3 separate regions of the Homo sapiens genome follow, and regions 1 and 2 are each linked to region 3. Evidence: promoter capture Hi-C in 16 types of primary human blood cells and fetal thymus (Javierre and others, 2016). All regions are on one chromosome and are shown on one strand. Each heading gives the region's core, a stretch centred on a gene start or on the middle of the fragment in contact. The rest is flanking DNA. Distances are from core to core; before and after follow the strand shown.

The links. Contacts are between HindIII fragments. The CHiCAGO score rates a contact against its expected background, and 5 or more counts as called.
Region 1: a contact is called between a fragment that was not itself captured here and the fragment with the promoter of RIPPLY1 in region 3, in 1 of 17 cell types (naive B cells). The highest score is 5.7, in naive B cells.
Region 2: a contact is called between a fragment that was not itself captured here and the fragment with the promoter of RIPPLY1 in region 3, in 6 of 17 cell types (naive B cells, naive CD4 T cells, monocytes and 3 more). The highest score is 7.1, in naive B cells.

What each region holds. Positions count from the first base shown.
Region 1 is chrX:107,926,980-107,930,390 of GRCh38, reverse strand. It overlaps MID2 (midline 2), which reads right to left. Exons shown (of 10, transcript NM_012216.4): 10 at 1-3,411. The coding sequence ends at 3,318. The region is part of intron 3 of LOC101928335 (a long non-coding RNA gene); the gene reads left to right. Among named protein-coding and RNA genes, the nearest start is that of TEX13B, 54 kb to the left of the region's middle. The HindIII fragment of the contact is 3,033 bases long and covers 132-3,164 here.
Region 2 is chrX:107,908,015-107,911,097 of GRCh38, reverse strand. The region is part of intron 5 of MID2 (midline 2); the gene reads right to left. All of the region lies in intron 3 of LOC101928335 (a long non-coding RNA gene), which reads left to right. Among named protein-coding and RNA genes, the nearest start is that of TEX13B, 73 kb to the left of the region's middle. The HindIII fragment of the contact is 231 bases long and covers 1,241-1,471 here.
Region 3 is chrX:106,901,415-106,904,692 of GRCh38, reverse strand. RIPPLY1 (ripply transcriptional repressor 1) reads left to right here and starts at 1,352. Exons shown (of 4, transcript NM_138382.3): 1 at 1,352-1,560; 2 at 2,478-2,553; 3 at 3,155-3,219. The coding sequence starts at 1,406. It also overlaps a transcript of CLDN2 not described here. The HindIII fragment of the contact is 2,011 bases long and covers 387-2,397 here.

The sequences.
Region 1 (3,411 bases), core at 399-2,898, 1.0 Mb before region 3:
GCTCCAAAGACATTTCCCCAAGATAACTGCCAAAGAGTTTTTGAGGAGGACAATGATCATTTATTATGTAGGAGCCTTGATATCTCTGCAAAATAGAATTAATACAGCTCAAATGGAGTAGTAACCAAGCTTTTCTGCCCAGGAAGTAACAAACATCACTACGAACATGAGAGTACAAGAGGAAACTTTCATAATGCATTTTTTCATTCATACATTCATTCAATAAACATTAGCCAAGCTAATGTTCCAAGCACTGTGCCAGGTATTAACAATATAACAACAATAAAAGACACAGTCCTTCCTCTCAAGGTGTTCAGTCTAGTAGGGAAGATGATTATTCATTAAAATTTTTGGTGCATCAGAATCATGAGGAGCTTGTCAAAAATGTAAATTCCTGCCTATGTTCTCAGATATTCTGGTTAGGTCAGGAGTGGGAACCCAAAATCAATTCTTTTAACAAACACTAAAGGTGATTCTAACACAGGCGGTGTGAGGACCACACTTTGAAAAACACTGCTATACAATGTGATTATTGCTGAGAGAGGGGGATGCTTGGGGTGTCTTTGGATCTCTAAAGAGGGATGCATCATCAAGTCTAAGGAATAAAGAGTTAGTCTGGTTGAGAGAGATAGAGGTGAGGAAAGGTAGTCCAGGATAGAGTCAAAAGTAGGGTGGGGAAATTAGATCTTTGTCCCAGGGCACTAAAATCTAAAAGACACCACAATAAATGAACAGTTTTGGAGAGCCAAGGACAAGGCAAAGGAAATTGTTCTACTGGAATGGAGGTTGCATTTTCTGTACTTACAGCATTTTCACACTATTCCTTTAATTTAAGAAAAATTTCTGTTGTTTACTCTGGGCATTAAAATTGTTAATCATGTTTCTGCTGCAGGCCCAGAGAATAACTTGTGTGAATAGTTGTGTAAATAGTTAAACTTGGCTACCTTAATCAATGTGAGGGGGAAAGTGGCAAAAGATTAAGCTGTGTAAGCAAACAGGGACATGAAAACCCAGACTCTGTAAGGAGTTGGGACCTTCTACTGGGTGCTAAGGGAGCCAGTGAAAAGTTTGATGAAGGGGAAAAAAATCATTTTTTTTTGTTTAAGAATTTGGGGATATGCCCTAGGGAAGAGACAAAGGTGACTGAGAAATGAAGGAGAAATGAAGGACATACATTTTAAAGCACTGTTACGCTGTATTGGAGCTGGGAGTAAGGAAAGAGATTAATATTTATGGCACACTTAGGAAATGTCAAGCGCTGAGCTAAGACAGTTTACATATGCTATCTTTTTTAACCTTTGAAACAGCCTTGTGAAGTAGACATTATTTTACAGAGGAGGAAACAGGCTCAGAGAAGTGAGGTACTTGTCCTAGGTCACAACGCTAATAAATGGTACAGAAACTAGGATCATTTGAATCCAAAGGTTATGAGCTTTCCACTACAGCAAACTATTTACCAGCACTGATGAATTTTACTGAGGTTGTTCATTTCCTGATTAGCAGTAAGCACATATGGTATTTAAAATCAAAAAAGATGACATTGCTGCTAGATTTATATTTTTGAGCCTTCCTTGTGTGTCTGCATCAGTCTTGCCTTCCACATTAAGTGAACAAACAATACATAACTGTTATTGGGGAGGATTATATACTTTGTTTCTTCCACAGAATAGTAAGCCATTTGGCAGCAGGTAGAGCATTTTGTTAATATGTGCACTCCCATGGCAGTAGTTTGGTACCTGGCATCTAATAGTTTATTGAATGAATTAATAAATGAGCATCCACCAAACTAGGGGAAAGGAAGAGGGGAGTTTTGACATTTCAAGTCTCCAATCTGAGGGAGTTGTTATGGCTACCACTTTGTAATTTTACAACAGTAATATTTTCACAAATCCCAGAAGACTTCCGAAGCCAACTTAGCTCCTGGAAAGGGGAAAGCTCTGGCTCTCTGACATCCCCAATCCCTTCGATGGAAATTTAAAAAAAAAAATCATAGACTACAAGGCTCCATTCCCTTCAACTATACTGGTTAGGACTGGGATGAAGTTTGTCTCCATTTGCGTGGAGGGATTGGCTAAGAGAATGAATACTGTAAACAAGATTGCAAAAGGAATGATTATTTATCCTATTTAAGAAAACAAACTGTTTTCAGACATTCTTGAGCACTTCAGAAGTGTTTTATCTGAAAAAGCAAGTACATTTATATGGGAATAGTTGGTGCATCAATAATACTCAATTTTTACTGATTAAGTAAAGTAGGTTCCTAAAGAGCCTTCACTGTGCAACTTTTTAAAAGCCTAATTCTCATAACTGTGTGTACTTGGGAGTAGTAAAACTTTTTTTTTAATAGTCTATGACAGAATTTTTAACAATTCAGATGGCCATCCTCAAGTAGGTAGCATCACTTCTACCTGATCAATTTTCTATCCAGCAACAGCATCTCTTGTGCAATCTTGTCTGTAAATCTCTGCTAATCCAATAAAGCTCTTCCCATTATCTGTGTCATGGTTGCATGTGTATGTGTGCGTGACAGGAGGGAGGAAGGCAATGATGGATAGAGGGAGGAAATAAATGTTGATTGATTTTGATGTTTCCTTTAGGGGACAAAAATGGATGGTGTAACTTATTTTCCCTTCCAGTATATTTCTCACTCAAATTAGCAAATTAAAAAGTTTTTTGTTCTAGTTCGAGGTGGTGTTTGGAAAAAAAAGTTTTTTGTGTATATGTAATATATAAAGTGAATATGCATAAACATACATACACAAGTGAATATATATAAAGTACATATATGTTCACTTTATATATTACATATACACATTCATGGTTTCCTAACAAACCCTTGATGATAGGTTTTCATCAAAAGTAAAATATAATATGTGATAATTTGACACTGTTCAAAATTCTACATGGCCAAACTGGCCAGTACTAGAAAGGCTGACCACCCCCCGCTCTGGCTTGCTAGCTCCTTATTCAGGGCACCTTTCCACATTATTTAACTAGAATTACCCTAATTGCTTCCAATATAATTTATATTCTTAAATCATTGGGAATTTTTAATTCTCCAATGACAACAGAGGCATTTTCTAAATTTTTCTCCAATGGCTTGAACGCAGACTACTCAGATAATTTGTTCTGAAAAACTCAATAAATTAATTCAAATACAAGCTTTAATGCACAAAAATTAAATCTGCAATATCTAGTTATTTTGGATGCTTCAAACAAACTTTATTTTGTGTCTCGTATATTGAACGCTAACTTAGGTGTAGGAGGGGAAGAACTGCTGAACTAGAGAGCCAGTGAATTATATACTCTCCTGAAACTTAATGACAGGTTTTCATCCCAGAAACATAAGGGGATTCTTGAGGCCTGCAGTTGCATTCCTGCCGCTCAGGGTAATCAATAAAATCTGGGGCA
Region 2 (3,083 bases), core at 107-2,606, 1.0 Mb before region 3:
CAGATCACTGGAGATCAGGAGTTCGAGACCACCCTGGCCAACATGGTGAAACCACATCTCTACTAAAAATACCAAAATTAGCCGGGCGTAATGGCGTGAGCCTGTAGTCCCAGCTACCAGGGAGGCTGAGGCAGAAGAATCACTTGAATCTGGGAGGCAGAGATTGCAGTGAGCTGAGATCGTGCCACTGCACTCCAGCCTGGGCAACAGAACAAGAAGAAAGAAAGAAGGAAAGAGAGAGAGAGGGAGAAAGAGAGAGGGAAAGGAAAGGAAAGGAAAGGAAAGGAAAGGAAAGGAAAGGAAAGGAAAGGAAAGGAAAGGAAAGGAAAATCTATAACAGAGGCAAATCTTGATGAAATTTCAGAAAAACTGGGTTAAAGATAAGATCTTTAAAACTTCTAGATCGTAATGGCTATTATTAAAAGGAGGAAGGATAAGTGCTGGTGAGGATGTAGAGAAAAGGGAACCCTTATACATTGTTGGTGGGAATATAAATTAGTACAGCCATTATAAAAAACAGTATGGAGGTTCCTCAAAAAACTAAAAATAGAACTACTGTAGGATCCAGCAATCCCACTAGTCAGTATATATCCAAAGAAGTTGAAATCAATATGTCAAAGAAATATCTGCATTCCCATGTTCACTGAAGCATTATTCAGAATAGCCAAGATATGGTATCTACCTAAGTTTCTATCAATGGATGAATGGATAAAGAAAATGTGGTATAGATACATAATGTAATACCTTTCAGCCACTGAAGTTGGAGGAAATCCTGTTATCCTTGACAGCATAAATGAACCTGGAGGATGTATGCTAAGTAAAATAAGCCAGGCACAGAAAGACAAATACCATATGATCTCGCACATAGGTGGAATCTGAAAAAATCAAACTCATAGAAATAGAGAGTAGAATGGTGGTTACTAGAGGCTGGTATGAGGAGGGAATGGGGAGTTGTTGGACAAAGGGTATAAAGTTTCAGTTAGACAGGAGGAATAAGTTTCTGAGATCTGTTGTGCAGCAGTGTGAATATAATCAATAATAACATATTGTATGTTTCAAAATAGCTAAAAGAGTAAATCTCAATGGCTGACCACAAAAAATGGTGAGGTAATGGATATGTTAATTGGCTTTGATTAGTCATTCCACATTGTATGCATATATGAAAACATCACATTGCAACCCATTAATGTATACAACTATGATTTGTCAATTAAAAGTAATATTAACTTTTGTTTAAGCTTCTGGATTTTAAAACATAGGTTATATTCAAAAGATCTGGATTCAAAACGGCAGTGAACGTCTCAACACAATAATGGAAGCCAGGAGACAATGAAGTCATGCCTTCAAAATTTATTTCCAACCTATCAAGTGTGAAAATTAACTTGAAATATTTTTAGGCAAAAAGTTCTTGAAAATTTACTTCCCATGTACTCTTTCTTAAGAAACTACAGGAGCGTTTGTTTGAAAAGCTTAAGGGAATCAAGTGGTACAGGAAGGGGAAATCCAGGCAGAGCCCAATGAGTTCCCTAAAATTAAGGAGACAGAGCTGAGAATCCAAGTGGACGAAGTTGGCTGGAGTTCACAGGACATAGTACCAGAGAGGAAAAAGCTGCAGAGAGAATTCTAGAGACCTTCAGAGTTTCCCTCTAGTAGTCAACAGAATACTGATCAACAAATGCATGCGAGGAAACTGCATAATGCTGGGGAAAGAGCCACCCAAAAAGATAAGAGGGAACAATCCCTGGTACTCACATAGGTCTAGCAATAGTGTGTGTTCCTACCAGCTAAACTGGAAAATCTCATGACTCACAGGACACTGGAATAGAGTACTCAGAAGGGTTTTGCCTCAGTAGTGGAGAAAAATTGTCTCTAGACTAAACATTGCTCTGATCTCACCTATCAAATCTGAAAACCAAGACTTGAAAGGATCAAGCTGTTTTCAAGTAACTTAACTGTGTCTCAGAACAAAGTTTAAGAATATTTATAGGAATACAAAAATATACAGCATCCCGAAAGAGAAAATTAACAAGTCTGATATCCAGTAAAAAATTACCTGATAGGCAAAAAATCAAGAAAATACAATCCATAATGAGAAGAAAAGGCAACCAATTGAAACGGACCCAGATATGACACAGGTATTAGAATTAGCAAGCAAGGACATAAAAGCAATTATTTTAACTGTATTCCATATGTTCAGAAAGCTAGAGGAAAGGCTAAATATCTTTTTTTGTTTTCAGAGACAAGACATTGTCCTGTTGCCCAGGCTGGAGTGCAGTGGCAGCATCGTGACCCACTGTACCCTTGAACTCCTGGGCTCAGAAGATCCTCTTGCTTCAGCCTCCCAAGTAGCTAGGACTACAGGCACATGTCACCAGATGCAGGCTTTTTTTTTTTTTTTTTTAGATGGAATCTCGCTATGTTGCCCAGGCTGGTCTCAAGTGATCTTCCCACCTCAGCCTCCCAGAGTGCTGTGATTAAAGGTGTGAGCCACCACACCCAGCCTGAATATCTTGAGATATGGAAGACATTTTTTAAAAGACCCAAATCAAACTAGAGATGAAAGTTATAATATCTAAGATAAAAAATACACTGGAGGGGTTAACAGCAGATTAGGTATCACAGAAGAAAAGGCTAGTGAACTTGAAGATATATCAATAGAAGCTATCCAAAATGAAACACACTTGCATGTGTTTTCACAATGGCAAAAAAATAAAAAGACTGCAAAACAAAAATAGAGCATTGGTAAGCTATAGGACAATTTCAGACAGCCAAATATACATGTAATTGGAATCCCGAATAGAGAGGAAGGAAGTGGCATAAAAATATTTGTAGAAGTAGTGGCAGAAAAAAAGTCCAAATTTGCAGAAGTTAATTGATACTGTCTAAAGTTGAAAAAAATTAAAACTACCAATGTAAGGATGTTATTTAGAAATGTAAGGTCATGCCAATAAAAACATCTGATAGAGCTGAAATTGCTTGGCTTTGTTGTAAAAGTGTAGACTGTGGCACTAGACTCCCTAAATTTGAATCTTGCCTGTGCCCCTTACTAGTTGGACAATTGTAAGCAAGTTATTTAACCTCTC
Region 3 (3,278 bases), core at 103-2,602:
TGCTGAAAAGAACATAGTGGGACTAGAATTGGAAGTGGGGTGAAGATGGGGGGTAGGTGAACAGAGAAATGAGGAGCCCTTAAATTAGTCATGCTATCTTACCATCTGATTTTTTTTTCCATTTTCTGTGTTGAAAAATTATACTTCCCAGAACATGATTGTGAGCACCTGCTTGGCATTCAGTTGCAAGGATTTGCCCTAATTAATGTAACTGGTTTCCTATTATTGGACATTGAAGTTGTTTCTAATTTTTGACCATTACAAACCAGACTGTGATGAACATCCAAGAAGCTAAATCTGTGCTGGGGCTGGACACTGAGGTCAGGAGGAATATTTTCGAGACCTCTGAAGCATAAGGTCCCTGCCAGTAGTTGTAACTAGAAGCTTTCTGGCAAAGGCCCAGAAGGCTGGCTAAGGCCGAGGACTGTGCTCAGGCCTCTGGGCTTGCCCGGGTTCAGTACCCATTTATGTAGCCCCTGTCAGAGAGTGTTCAGGCTGGCATGGTCCTATGAGACCACTGGGCCAGCACCCTCATCTCTTACATGAGGGAACTGAGGCCTGGGGCTGGGGCTGGTCCTTCGGCAGCTCTGTAGTCGGGCAGAACTTTGCCTCTCCCCAGCACCCTGGCTTCTGAACTGGAAGCTAAGCTCTGAGGTTTGGAATCTCACCCAGAGGCCCTGTGAAATCCTGCCTGCTCTCCTTCACTGGACCACTTACTGCTGAGGCTGGAGGGGGCACTTTGACAAATGAACTGATCAGTAAGGGGCTGAGGGGCATTGAAAGAAGACTTAAGGTTTACCCAACAAGCATCTGGGCCTGCTCTGCCCAGAATGCCCCTTTTTTCCCTAACCCAGATGATATGCTTAATGGCAGTCACCCTACATTCAGGTCCACCTGGCAAATCTATCTGAGGTTGAGCTGAAATAACAAGTGAGTCCCTCACTCTCCTTAAAGGGGTCAGCTGTCTCTTCTTGCCAGGAACTGGCTTAGTTAAAGGCCTGTCTATTCAGCCCTCTGTCCCTGACATCTCTGTGGTTTCAGAGTGCTAATGAGCTCCTCTCCTTCCCCTCTCAGGCCTTGCTACTCCCTGGGGAATTCACACAAATGGTGTGCGATTTGCCCCTTCTGTGTTTTTCTTTCTGACTTGGAGGCAAAGCAAATCCCTCACCTCCCACTGACACCATGTTTATTCAACTGGGAGAGATTTCACACCCAGGTAACCCAGCTTTCCCTCCCTGAGCCCCTTCCCTAAATCTTTATCCCCCTCCCAAGTCATCCCACCCCTGTCCTCCCTGAATAATTTATAAGACCAGGCAGGGCTTATAAAAGGGTCTCCCAGGAAAAGCCAAAAGAGTGCAGAAGGTTCTGGGAAGTAGGAGACCCCACTGGCTTTGGTCCCCTAAGAATGGACTCTGCTGCCTGTGCTGCTGCTGCCACCCCTGTTCCAGCCCTGGCTTTGGCCCTAGCTCCAGACCTAGCACAAGCCCCACTGGCACTCCCTGGCCTGTTAAGCCCATCTTGCCTTCTCTCCTCTGGACAAGAAGTAAATGGGAGTGAAAGGTAAGTTGAGCTTAGCCTTTGGCAACCTGAACTTAGGCTTGAGAGCTTCCTGAGAGAGGAAGGAAAATGAGATGTCCAGGGCACCCTGTTCTCTGTGAAGGGGAAAAGCAATGGCCTCATAGCCCTCCCTCCTCAACTCTAGCTGGAATATCTCATCTGACTTTTCACCTCACTAATCCCGCTGGGTGGCAAGAGGGGACTTGGGGACAGCTGTTGCCAAAGCTGAAGGTGAAGCAGCCAGGTCCTCATAGGCCAGGTGGCTGAGTCCCCTGAGGGGGATGGGGAACTGCCATGAAACCTGGGCTTAACACAATCTAGACTGTGGGGGTGGGGAGTTTGGGGAAAGAGGACCAAAGTCTAAAGAGGCCCTTGACTGGGACATTGTCTTTTTCCTGACCACGCCATAAGATTTCCATTTGCTTTTTTCCTACCTCTGCAAGTCCAGTGGGGAAGCAGTGGACCCAGGAACATTTCTGGCCCTCTTCTTCAGCCCAGGAAGATGGTAGAGCTCTGAGTTCTACATCTTGGAGCAGGAAGTAGGAGGCAAGATATTTTCCATCTAGCCCCCACTCATTACTCCAAACATTTAGTCTTCAACAAACATTTACTGAAACAGCTACTGTGTACCAGACATTGTACTAGGTGTTGAGGATTCAGATACGATTGAGCATATCTTTGAGCTTAAGAAGCCCAAAGACAAGTAAATAGACAATTACAAAACAGCATGATAAAAGCAATAATAACATTGCTGAAGCCGAGAGGAGGGACATCTGTCCTGGAATGGGCTCAGGAGCCTTAGGAAAGGCTTCCTGGAGCAGATGGCACCTGAGCCAAGCTTTTGGGAGGTCTCTTGTTATCTCAGGGAGCCCACCTTTCAGTCTCTTCCTCTACGGATTGATCTCTCCTCTTTGTCCCAGAGGAACTTGTCTCTGGAGGCCCTGGCTGTCTTCCACAAATGACTCCCCAAGGCAGATGAGGAAGCTGGTGGATTTGGTGAGTTCGAGCCCTTGTGACGTGTGTTCACATGCAGCCACATGCATTAACAGTGACCAGGTCACTTCCCAGAGAGCCCCTGACCTCAGTCCAAAGGTGCAGATCTGAGATAGCATCCTCACAGTTTTGCCAACATTTGATTCCAACAGAGAGCAGATCCAAGCTTTCTGTGGCAATTGGAAAGATGAGGAGACCAAAGCTCAGAGTGGGCAAGGGATCTGGGCAGGCCCCACAGCCAGTGTGTGGCAGTGCTGGTGCTTGAGGCCTCGTCTCCTGGCACCTTACTCCAGTGCTCTCCCACCCACCCGATCTCCCTGAATCTTTGCTGCTCCAGTAGAACACTGTCCCCTGGAGAGCCTCCAAACAGGTGCTGGAACAGAGGCAGGGAAGCAAACAACCCGCAGGACTCTGTCTGCTTGTTTTTCAACCAGAACCAAGAGAGACCCCTTGTTGAGGGGTGGGTATTGGGGGTTGCTGGGTCCCAGAGATGTCTAAGGTCTCTTCAAGATCATTTTACCTGCAGCTTTCTGACCTCTAGTACAGAGGAGGAAGTTATCTAGCCATGTACTTTGAGCCACATGCTAGCTTTTGCTTTGGACAGGCTGCTGGTGGGGCAACGGCTGCTGAGGTCACCAAGGCTGAATCCAAGTTCCATCACCCTGTCAGGTAAGCTTCTGGCATGAAGCTCCAAACTTGACATAGATCCATTAGCTCTTTGAATCTTC